Linked DNA regions of Homo sapiens: regions 1 and 2 are each linked to region 3. The links are contacts of gene promoters, found by promoter capture Hi-C in human tissues and cell types (Jung and others, 2019). All regions are on one chromosome and are shown on one strand. The core of a region is centred on a gene start or on the middle of the fragment in contact, and the rest is flanking DNA. Distances in the headings are between cores, read along the strand shown. Region 1 overlaps CSE1L (chromosome segregation 1 like). Region 2 overlaps ZFAS1 (ZNFX1 antisense RNA 1). Region 3 holds the start of PTPN1 (protein tyrosine phosphatase non-receptor type 1).

Region 1 (4,041 bases), core at 255-2,754, 1.4 Mb after region 3:
GGCAACACCCAATATTCCAATATTTTTTGAAAAATTAATTTCATGTATCATTTAACACCTTCCCTCTTTCTGACTGAGTCCCAAGAGTTTCACTGATATTTTCAAACTCTCCTTGCTTTGTGCTTATCATGTCTTTCTTGAAGGATGAAGATTGTTAAACTGAAAAATGTTTTTCAGGAGGGGACATACTATGGTTTTATATGAGTACAGAACAATTTGTTTCCTCCACTTAGTAGCCAGCATTTTGTACAGGGCAACACACTACATCCATGATTTGAGGAAAAGCCCATATAAATTGCCAAGTCTCTTTCCTAAATTGTAATCAATATCCAGGAAGTGAGTTTGAGTCTGTTCCTTTCTGTGTTCATTTCTTTCAACTTATCACAATATTCACATGCATATGTTTCTGCGCACTCAAGGAGTCTCAAAAGGTCTAGTTGAGTCAGTCTAGTCAGTCAGTCTCGATCCCTGAGAAATGCTATGTTCCTAACTTCCCAGAAATACCAGATTATTTTTATACTCTGTCCTGAATACATAAAGCAACAGAACTCTTGCCTCACACATTATTAAAAAAAAAATAATTGCCGGGTGCGGTGGCTCACACCTGTAATCCCAGCACTATGGGAGGCCGAGACGAGTGGATCACAAGGTCAGGAAATCGAGACCATCCTGACTAACCTGGTGAAACACCCGTCTCTACTAAAAATACAAAAAATTAGCCGGGTGTGGTGGCGGGCGCCTGTAGTCCCAGCTACTCGGGAGGCTGAGGCACAACAATGGGGTGAACCCGGGAGGTGGAGCTTGCAGTGAGCCAAGATGGCGCCACTGCACTCCAGCCTGGGCAAGAGTGAGACTCTGTCTCAAAAATAAATAAATAAATAAATAAATAAATAAATAATAATAATAATTTTTCCACCGGGCACGGTGGCTCATGCCTGTAATCCCAGCACTTTGGGAGGCTGAGGCGGGTGGATCACGAGGTCAGGAGATGGAGACCATCCTGGCTAACACGGTGAAACCCTGTCTCTACTAAAAATACAAATAATTAGGTAGGCATGGTGGCGGGCGCCTGTAGTCCCAGCTACTCAGGAGGCTGAGGCAGGAGAATGGCGTGGACCCGGGAGGCGGAGCTTGCAGTGAGCCAAGATGGCGCCACTGCACTCTAGCCTGGGCGACAGAGGGAGACTCCGTCTCCAAAAAAAAAAAAAAAAAAAAAATTTTTAATAGTGTTGGCAACAGCTTTCTTTGAAAGTCTAAGAAGATTAAAGATTAGAGCCATTAACTTCCCTTTATCCAGGAACACATTACTTCTTTATACACTAATAAACTAATTTTTCCTCTCAAAAATCACAAAGACTTTTCTAGAAGAGGATAGATGCATTAACATGTTCATGATTCTAGTCATCATACATAATATATAACACACATTCTCTTCCTCATGGAACCCTTCCAACATCCTCTATGAGCATGCACATTGGTAAGTTTTGAAGAAACAGGTCAAGAGCATTTTAATATGGCCCATATCAAGGATCAATAACTGACTGCTCACAAGATATATCTGGCCCAGAAGTAGTTTGGCTTGCACTGTATTTCAATTTTTTTTTTTTTTGAGACAAAGTCTCACTCTGTCACCTAGGCTGGAGTGCAGTTGGGCAATCTTGGCTCACTGGAACCTTCACCTCCTGGGTTCAAGCGATTCTTGCACCTCAGCCTCCCAAGTAGCTGGGGTTACAGGCACATGCTACCATGCCTGGCTAATGTTTGTATTTTTAGTAAAGACAGGGTTTCACCATGTTGGCCAGGCTGGTCTCAAACTCCTGACCTCAGGTGATCTGCCCTCCTGGGCTTCCCAAAGTGCTGGGATTACAGGCGTGAGCAAATGTGCCTGTCCAATTTTTTTTTTTCTTTTGAGACGGAGTCTTGCTCTGTCACCAGGCTGGAGTGCAGTGGCCTCGGTTAACTGCAACCTCCGCTTCCTGGATTCAAGCAATTCTCCTGCCTCAGCCTCCCAAGTATCTGGGACTACAGCCGTGCACCACCACGCCCAGCTAATTTTTGTATTTTTAGTAGAGACAGGGTTTCACCACATTGGCCAGGATGGTCTAGATCTCTTGACCTCATGATCCGCCTGCCTTGGCTTCCCAAAATGCTGGGATTACAGGCGTGAGCAAATGCACCTGGCCTTTTTTTTTTTTTTTTTAAGACAAGATTTCCCTCTGTCACCCAGGCTAGAGTGCACTGACATGATCATAACTCACTGCAGCTCCGACCTCTTGGGTATAAGTGAAGCTTTTGTCTCAGCCTCCCCAGTTGCTAGGAATACAGGCACACATCACCACACTTGGCTAATTTTTAAATTTTTTGTAGAGACAGGGTCTTGCTTTGTTGCCCAGGCTGGTCTCGAACTCCTGGACTCAAGGGATCTTCCTGCCTTGGCCTCCCAAATTACTGGGATTAAAGGCGTGACCACCAACCCTGGCTGTGTTTCAAAATATTTTTTTTTTTGGGACTACGTCTCGCTCTGTCACCCAGGCTGGAGTGCAGTGGCGCAATCTCAACTCACTGCAACCTCCACCTCCCAGGTTCAAGCAATTCTCCTGCCTCAGCCTCTTGAGCAGCTGGGACTACAGGTGTGTGCCACCACACCCAGCTAAGTTTTTGTATTTTTTAGTAGAGAAGGGGTTTCACCATATTAGCCACGATGGTCTCGATCTCCTGCCCTCGTGATCTGCCCACCTCGGCCTCCCAAAGTGCTGGGATTACAAGCGTGAGCCACCGCACCCGGCCCCAAAATCTTTTGAAGTTACTTGCTAACATTTAAAAATGAGGGCACTTCATATAAATATCCTTATTTTTCAAGCAAAACTGGAAATCTGATCTTGCAAAACTAGTCTGAATCCCCAAAATTAGCTAGTTCCAAAAAGTACTTGCCACTTAATCAGGGCATGTATTCTCCTGATATTACCAGTCTCCACTTGGCCTATCTCCCTCATTTAACTTAACAGCTGAGTCCTGTGAACACCTGAGTTCAATATTTTAATTCTACGTTTTTAATGGAATCTGGTCAGATTCAGGAAGGAAAAAAAAAGCTCTAGGTCTTAAAATATATTAGTTAAATCAAACCCAATAGAAAATTAAAATTAAGAGACAGTAACTGATTACTTGGCTTCATTCACTTAATCACTTTTTAGGCAATTACTCTCCTTTCTATGCCCTAATTATTTTATCTCTAAAGCAGGCTTTTTTTTTTTTTTGAGACGGAGTCTTGCTCTGTCGCCCAGGCTGGAGTGCAGTGGCGCAATCTCGGCTCACTGCAAGCTCTGCCTCCGGGGTTCACGCCATTCTCCTGACTCAGCCTCCTGAGTAGCTGGGACCACAGGCACCCGCCACCACGCCCGGCTAATTTTTTGTACTTTTAGTAGAGACGGGGTTTCACCGTGTTAGCCAGGATGGTCTCCATCTCCTGACCTCGTGATCCGCCTGCCTCAGCCTCCCAAAGTGCTGGGATTACAGGTGTGAGCCACCGCATCCGGCCTAAAGCAGGCATGTTTTAAGTGGGTATTTTGGAAAAGGTCAAAGACAAAGCATTCTAAACATGTCAGTACTTTTTATCCGAAAACTAGTACTTTTTAATCCCAGAAGATGCCAAATAAAAGCTATTTTACTCAAAAAAGAAACAACACACCATGGTATAGCAGCTGTAACACTTATAAACTACGCTTGAGAACCCAAGTATGAATTTTTTAAAATATATTTATAAGGAGGCAGATAATACATAGGTTTCTCTCACCTGTCCTGAAGGAATTAATCAACCAAAAAACGTTTATTTTCTTTACCTGGACGTCGGATGGCAGGATCAGGATCAAGTGTTTTCTTTAAATATTCTGTTAGTGTTTGCAGATTTGCATCGCTGAGTTCCATTGCTATAGGATCTAAAATATAAAATAAGGTTTGGATAACTGGTCACTTACGGAAAAAGTGATTTACATTTAAAGAAATCCGTTTATATTATGGGTTATTCTCTCTGAAAGTCATCCATCT
Region 2 (3,791 bases), core at 1,247-3,746, 1.2 Mb after region 3:
CTGCCACTTAACAGCTGTATGACAAACTATATATACACATATACATAGATGTATATGTACATGCATGTATATACTATACACATAGGCAGTACCTGTTAGGCACTAAGTAAAAACATGGCCAGGCATGGTGGCTCATGCCTGTAATTCTAGCACTTTGGGAGGCCAAATAGGGAGGATCCCTTAAGCCCAGGAGTTTGAGACCCGCCTGAGCAACAGTTTCTATTTAAAAAAATAAAAAACAAGATAAGGGAATAGAAAGTGATAGAGATGATTAGACAGTTCCCCAGAGGGAGTGAGAGCAAATACCTGAATGACACAAGGCAGAGGGCTGTGCAAAGCTCTGGGGGTCTAGGGCTGATCATTCCAGGCAGTGGGAAAATCAAGTGCTAAGATACTGAGGTTGGAGTAATCCTAAAGGAATGGAGAAGTCAGGGGGCCCATGTGGCTAAGATTGAAAGGGAAGAGATGAAGTTAGAGGTTAAGGGAAGGGGAAGATCATGTAGGCCCTGATGGACTTTGGCTTTTACTGTGTGAGGTGGGGAAGACACTGGAGGCTTCTGAGCAGAGAGCTCCATACCTAATTCAGGTTTTCACAGATCGCTCTGGTTGCATCTCAATTGATCGTAGGGAGCAAAGGCTGAAGTAGAGACCAGTATTCCAAGCTTGTTTGATGGTTTGTACCAAGGTGGTAGCAATGAAGACGCTAAGAGGGGGTGGGTTTCAGATGTATTTTGAAGGTAGAACCAATAGCATTTGCCAAGGGATTCACATGGTACATGAGGTTGATTCCACAGCTCCTGACCAACTGGACTTCTGGTGTTGCCAATACCTGGGAAGGGAAGATCGCAGGAAGCACAGACTTGCAGGGAATGGGGTTAGGTGAGTGAAGCATCAGGCATTTAGTTTTGGACATGTTAAGTCAAATGCACAAATAAGTCTGAAAATGTAGGCTGGGGCCAGACATAAACGCTTCAAATGCTACGTGGAGAAATTGAAGTAGCATCAGTTGACTTAGGTAATGGAGATGCCCATGTCAGGACCTTTAGAGTGGGCATTATAGAGTTGTGAATTTACTGCTTTGTAGCAAGTTATCTCAAAACCTAGTGGCTTGAAATACATTTCCCATAGGTCAGAAATCCAAGCACAATCTGGGTGGGTCCGCTCTCAGGGTTTCTCACAAGCCTCCGCTACAGAAAGACGTGCTTACAAACTCACATGGTTGTTGGGTAACTCCTCCCACACTAATGGTTCAACCTCAGTTGATTGCTACGCTGGCCTCTCCCAACATGGCAGCTTAATTAAAAGTGAGCAAGCTAGGCCAGGCGTGGTGGCTCACGCCTGTAATTCCAACACTTTGGGAGGCTTGACGCAGGCAGATCACTTGAGGTCAGGAGTTCAAGACCAGCCTGGCCAACATGGTGAACCCCCTCTACTAAATATACAAAAATTAGCCAGGCGTGGTAATCCAAGCTACTCGGGAGGGTGAGGCAGGAGAATTTGCTTAAACCCAGGGGACGGAGGTTGCAGTGAGCTGAGATCTCAAAAAAAAAAAAAAAAAGTGAGCAAGCCAAGGAGAATGAGAAAAAGAGCTAGCAAGTCTCAGAAGTTACACTAGGTCCAGCCTAGTCAAGGGGAGGGGATTCTGAGTCAATACCAGGAGTCATTTTAGAAATCTAGAGGTCCCAGGCTGGGCGCAGTGGCTCATGCCTGTTATCCCAGCACTTTGGGAGGCCGAAGTGGGCAGATCACAAGGTCAGGAGATCAAGACCATCCTGGCTAAAACAGCGAAAACCCGTCTCTACTAAAAATACAAAAAATTAGCCGGGCGTGGTGACGGGCACCTGTAGTCCCAGCTACTTGGGAGGCTGAGGCAGGAGAATGTGAACCCAGGAAGCAGAGCTCGCAGTGAGCTGAGATCATGCCACTGCACTCCAGCCTGGGTGACACAGCGAGACTCTGCCTCAGAAAAAAAAAAGAAATCTAGAGGTCCCATCTTTGAGGTGAGATTTTAAGATACTTAAAAAATTATTCACTGTGTATTTTAAATAAAAAATCATCACATATTGATAAATGATGCAGCCTATTTTTGCAATTTCCTATGAAGTTTATAAACAAATACCATAGCCCACATCATCCTTACTCATCTCATGCAACCATTAAGGCCTAATACCCACGATTTAACATACACGATCTTGTGCAGGTGTAAGCATACAAGTGAGATACCTCTGTATTGACCCTCTGCTTTGAATTCTGGCCCAAGTGTGCTTGCTTATTCTTAGGTTTCCAATGCAGAAGCCAATCACGAGGCACAATACCTGTGGAAAGCAGGCTTTGCCCACAGAAACCAACTGCCCACTAGGGTGATTCTCCCCTCAAAAAACTAAAACCAAATGAAACTGCAAATACCTAACTACTACTTGTTATCCCTGTTCAATGGTTATCTCCAATGGCCAAACAAAACAGCATTTTGATTTAAAAGATTTTATTTTCTTTATGCAGGTAGGCAGTTAGAAATTTCAAAGTCTAACAATGACATTCTTGAAGTGGGCACAGCCTTTTAAACTCAGGCTATGTATACAGTAACCTTGTGGAACTGGTTCAGCCAGATCTTCACTTTCATGAAAGCACAGGGTCTGTCCTTTTCTTTCCAGAGGGCTCCTCTCATATTCCATCGCCAGTTTCTAAGAAAGAAGGTGGATTACAATCAGTGCTCCATTCTGGTCTATACCGCTTCTTGTTTAGGGTATGAAAATACATGTGACTAAGACCTGGTCACTCCAAGTCCATCCCCTTTATCGGTACGGCCAAGTACCGATAAACGGAGCTGGGAAACTTCCCAATCTCTAATAAGACAACTTTAATTCTGTACTTTTATTGAATCCCATATTGTACCTGCGTTGGCAAAATGTTTAACCTTCATCTAAAAATGACTTCATGTCACAGTAAACACAGAAGACAAAAACCCAGAATGAGGACACTACCAGTAAAAATCTTTTAAAGGATGAGAAGCTGAGCAGTGGGGGGTATGGCTGTAGTTGCAGCTACTGAGGATATTGAGGGTGGGAGTTTCCCTTGAAGCCATGAGTTTCAAGCAATCATGCCTGTGAATAGCTACTACACTCCAGCCTGGGTCACGTAGCAAGGCTGCAACTCTACAAAATATGAAAACATTAGCCAGGGATGGCAGTGTGTGCTTTCAGTCCCATCTACTTGGGAGGCTGAGGCAGGAGGATCATGGATGCAGTAAGCCATGACTGCACCACTGCACTCCAGCCTGGGTGACAGAGCAAGACCCCATTCTCTTAAAAACAGAAATTGGGATACCTGTATGTTCATTCAAGAAATAACCCAAGTAATGTGTATTAAAGACATTTTAGGGGCAAATAAGGATACTTGAATAAAGTTATACCAGGCTTAGGATCTATTTAACATCTTAGACGTAAGGGTCATTGTTATATGCAAGATGTCTTATTACATGAATGTTGGACTTTAAGAACTATGCACATTCACACATCCAAAAACAAAATACTTCTAAGATGAGTCATCACTGACTGACATGAACTACAATTTTTGAGGTTTTGGTTTTTTAATATAAAAGTTGGAGAATTATGAGGAGCCACATCTATGATGGCAAAAACACTATACTCAAAAGGTGTAAGAAAACTCAGTTTGCTTATTCCCCTTCCATTGATTAAGGACACCAGGCAAACTGGAGGATGATGCAACACAGTTATTTGGTAAAAAAGCTTCCCTGTGTTAGCTCAATTTATTGAGGGATTGTAAAGGTCAGC
Region 3 (4,243 bases), core at 934-3,433:
AATCTCAACACCTTGACTAACTTGTGGGGTTTAATTGTGGCAGAAAAACTTAAGAACAATGAAGGAAATGAATTGAAGACTGACACACTCCATGCTAGTTGCATGCTGAATACAATTTTAACCATGCTTGGGTGACAGGTCAACCCACTCTGGCTTAAAATTGTAAGAAATAAAATTCAACTAAGAACTAAGTTACAATACGTATTTCTTGTTGTCAACTCAGTCAATTTCAGTGGAAAAGACTTCTCTCCACAATGCTTCCACTGTGATGGGGTGTATCATAATCAACTCCAACACTTCAGACCAACAATTTTCATTTAAAGACATTTTAGACTCTACTGCATTAAACTGATGCAGAAAATTTGTCTACACAGTCTCAAAGTCCCTTATGGAATTCATTCAGCTAATTCAGAGACCAGATATGGCATACAAATTTTATATACTGATCAATCATACTTATTAGTATATAGATTACAGTGGTTAGAAATATTAGTCTAGCAGAAACTAATATACACACTACAGTCCAAATAAAAAGAATCCTGTCAAATAAGCTTGATGTAAATCCACATGAAAATCAAGGCTGCCAAAAAAAAAGGCTTTTGTTAGTCAAGCATACCAAAGAACTGCTTAAACCTTTTTTCCTTTCTAAGCGGAGCTCAAAATAGATTTTAATACTACAGCTGATGGATCTCACAATTTGCCTTTTGAGCCTATAAGCTGAAAACAGAATCATCTGCTGTCTCCCTTTACACAAGTAACAAAATCTCTCTATTCTGTATATCGCTTATTTAAGATACTGTGCAAGTGTGGTTTTAGTTAATCTTAACAACCCCCGCAATGACATTTAATTGGGAGTATGTATCTTATTCAGCTGCTTGTGAAAGGAAGAGCTCTTTGTGTTTTTAACTACTTGTTTTATAGATATATGAGAAACCCTCCTTTCCTAACTTTTTAACACACAAGGAGATGACTCCTAAGACAAGGTCATCTCTGCCACGACCAAAGACTAAGCTGCTCATTGAGGAAAGATGCTATTTTAGAGAGGGTTAAAACGTTAACCTTCCTGAGTCCCTGCCTGAAAGAATAATATCATGGCCCCAATGGAGTGGGTACCGCAGGCCTCCTGGCTAGAAGGTTCTTTAGCCCCATATTCTCACGGCTTTCTGCTCCTCTTGGTTCAGCTCACAAAGCAAATGTCTCCTCCTTTGACAGGCCTTCCCTGATCCCCTTCTCTAAGACAGCCGGCCTTCTATGCAGTCACCCTGTACCCCGTTAGGAAGTCGTTCTCTTCACAGCACCTGTCACTATCTGAAATTATTTGCTTTTGTGTTTGATTGCCCTATTCGACTCTAGGCCCCACTAAGGCTAGGATCTTGCCTGTCCTGATTAGCAAACACCACCTCCAATGCCTAAGCGGTGCCTAGCACAGAATAAGCTTGCCAACTCCTATCCAATAAATGAATGAACAGAAAGGGGAAAGGGGACTGTCATCTCTGGGACTCGACGCACACTGAGACTAGGGGAAAGGAAATGTGAAGGAGGGACGGGGGGAGTAACCTTTTCCCCCAGGGAGACAAAGGAAGAGAGTCTGAGGTGGTCCACTCCAGAAAAGGAAATAGTGGGGGTGCTAAATCACCCCAGGGGACAAAGAGTGGACAGGCAGGGGGCGGGGTCGGGGTGCGAGGGATTCGCGTTGAGAGCACAGACCGGCGGTCCCCCGGCTTGAGAGATCACCCGAGCTGGAGAACAGAAGGGAGGTGGGGGATCGAAGGGGGCTCCGACGCTGCGGCGAGAAACACGCCCGCCCCGGGGACAAAGGGTGGGGGGACGCAGTGCGTCGCTGTCCCATCGAATCCTCAAGCAGTAGGAGCGAGGCAGAGGGCAAGACCCAGAGGGAGTCTGGGGCCTGGAGGTCTGAGGGGATGTTCAAGCGGCCTAAGCGAAGGGCCCGCCACGCTCCGGGGCGCTCCCGCACCTGGTAAATGGCCGCCCAGCTCCCGGACTTGTCGATCTGCTCGAACTCCTTTTCCATCTCCATGACGGGCCAGGGCGGCTGCTGCGCCTCCTTCTCGGCCCACTGCGCCGTCTGCCGCTCTAGGCCGCGTCGCGCTCTTAGCCCCGAGGCCCGCTGCAATCCCCGACCCCTGCAGCTACCGCCGCCCTAGCCGCTGCTGCTTCTTCATGTCAACCGGCAGCCGGAACTACGCATCACGCCTGCCAGGGGCTCCGCCCCTGAAGCAGAAGGACCAATCAGCGATCGAGAATTTCGACAAGCACTTCCGCGGGGAGGAGCCGGGGGCGGTGCTAGGGGAAGTGGCCCCAGCACCGCGAGATATCTAATAGCGCGCGTTCCCTCCTCCGCTTTGGGGCTCTGGGCTCGGGCGCGGCGCGCGCCTGTTGCCTAGGCGACCCCGGGAGCCCCGCCCACGGCGCGTGGGCTCTCCAGGCCCGGGAGGGCATTGAGTTCCAGCCCCGACCCGGCCCGTTGAGTCACAGAGTGAGTGGCCTTAAAGTAGTCATGCACCTCCTTTCCTGCAGGGCCTGGGCCCCAGCCTCAGTAATCCAAGCTGGAGTATGGGAGGAGGGCACCGTGCTCTATTTCCTGCCTCCCAGCTCTGGCCAGATGTCTGCCCTTTTTTCATGAAACTCAGGAGTATCATGTTTCACTACGCTGCTGGGGAAGCCCACTGCTCTCTAAGGGTAGTGTCCCTGTCTGAAACGCAGAATTTCCACTTGGGTGCTGCAGGAATGAATGGATGGGGATGGAATGATTTTCAGTGTTTCCCGAAGTATCAAGGAACTCCTGCTCAGACTGAACTAAGCAGAGCACAAATTCCATGGTGCATTATGTTAAATAAAAATCATAGGAGCCCAGGCGCGGTGGCTTACATCTGTAATCCCAGCACTTTGGGAGGCAGAGGCAGGCGGATGTCTTGAGGCCAGGAGTTCCAGACCAGCCTGGGTAACAGAATCAGACCTCGTCACTACTAAAAGTTAAAAAATTAGCCGGTGTGGTGGGGCCCAGCTGCTGGGGAGGCTGAGGCAGGAAGATCACCTGAGCCCAGGAGGTGGAAGCTGCAGTGAGCTGTTTTGGCGCCACTGCACTCCACCTTGGGTGGCAGAGAGAGACCCTGTCTTGAAAAAAAAGGGCTGGGTGTGGTGGCTCACACCTGTAATCCCAGCACTTTGGGAGACCGACGCAGGTGGATCACCTGAGGTCAAGAGTCCGAGACCAGCCTGACCAACATGGTGAAACTCGGTTTCTGCTAAAAAAAAAAAAAAAAAAAAAAATTAGCCGGGCGTGGTGGCGCATGCCTGTAATCCCAGCTACTTGGGAGGCTGAGGCAGGAGAATCGCTTGAACCCTGGAGGCAGAGGTTGCAGTGAGCCAAGATAGCTCCACTGCACTCCAGCCTGGGCAACAAGAGCGAAACAAACAAACAAAAAAAGTTCTGGCATTAGGGTCTCAACAGACTAGACTAAAAATCAAAATGGAGTCACTCATGCTAAAGTTCTACATCATCAGACTGATAACCTTTCACAAAATCAGAAGAGAGATACACACCCTGATTTCCCAAGCAGACCGTTTTAATCAACATAATGAAGTTCCCTTTGCTTTAATCCTTACAACAAAAAGTAACCTGAAGTAACCCGATGCGACCAATCAGTTATTTCTCTCTTGTTCTGTTTCCCTGTTCCTGCCTTACAAGGAAAGTAACTTTGAAATGACCAATCTGCTTTTTGTTCTTTGTTTCTGCTTTTTTCAGCCCTTTTCTGTCTATAAAACCAACCTCCTCTGCTCAGCTCATTGGGACACTTGTGCTATTTTGAGGAATGAAGTCTTGCCCGATTCTAGAATCATGAATGAAGCCAATTAAGATGTTTAAGTTTGTTGTAATTTTGTCTTTTGACATTTACGGTCACCTGGGAAGTGTGTTGAATAATGCAGGTTCCTGGACCCATCGCCAAATGATTCAGATATCTTTGGTCTAGGGATGAGACCCGGAATCTGCATTTTCACCAACAACTCCAGCTGATTCTCGTACCTATGATCCTTAAAGCACCCATGAGCAGGTTGGTCAGGTTGCCTTCCTGCAGGCTCCAGTTTAAACCATCCCCCTCTGGGCCTGGCATGTCATGTGGACGTTGTGAATTCCAGGAGGTTTGAAAACCTGGAAGAGAGAATTGTCTTCATTCCGTGTTGCCCAGAGACACTGCCTGGTATTATCAGCTGAACTCCAGCT

What was found. Contacts are between HindIII fragments. The study calls those that stand out against the background at their distance.
Region 1: a contact is called between a fragment that was not itself captured here and the fragment with the promoter of PTPN1 in region 3, in 1 of the 25 tissues and cell types used here (spleen).
Region 2: a contact is called between a fragment that was not itself captured here and the fragment with the promoter of PTPN1 in region 3, in 1 of the 25 tissues and cell types used here (spleen).

The regions. Positions count from the first base shown.
Region 1 is chr20:49,058,344-49,062,384 of GRCh38, reverse strand. CSE1L (chromosome segregation 1 like) reads right to left here. Exons shown (of 25, transcript NM_001316.4): 2 at 3,837-3,932. The coding sequence starts at 3,921. Among named protein-coding and RNA genes, the nearest start is that of CSE1L, 14 kb to the right of the region's middle. The HindIII fragment of the contact is 4,419 bases long and covers 1-3,713 here.
Region 2 is chr20:49,287,935-49,291,725 of GRCh38, reverse strand. It overlaps ZFAS1 (ZNFX1 antisense RNA 1), which reads right to left. Exons shown (of 4, transcript NR_036658.2): 4 at 2,466-2,681. Among named protein-coding and RNA genes, the nearest start is that of SNORD12, 9.1 kb to the right of the region's middle. RefSeq lists enhancers at 145-244, 1,280-1,389, 3,559-3,791. The HindIII fragment of the contact is 4,845 bases long and covers 74-3,791 here.
Region 3 is chr20:50,508,323-50,512,565 of GRCh38, reverse strand. PTPN1 (protein tyrosine phosphatase non-receptor type 1) reads right to left here and starts at 2,183. Exons shown (of 10, transcript NM_002827.4): 1 at 1,976-2,183. The coding sequence starts at 2,038. RefSeq lists enhancers at 2,110-2,209, 2,422-3,009 and a silencer at 2,320-2,549. The HindIII fragment of the contact is 10,222 bases long and covers 994-4,243 here.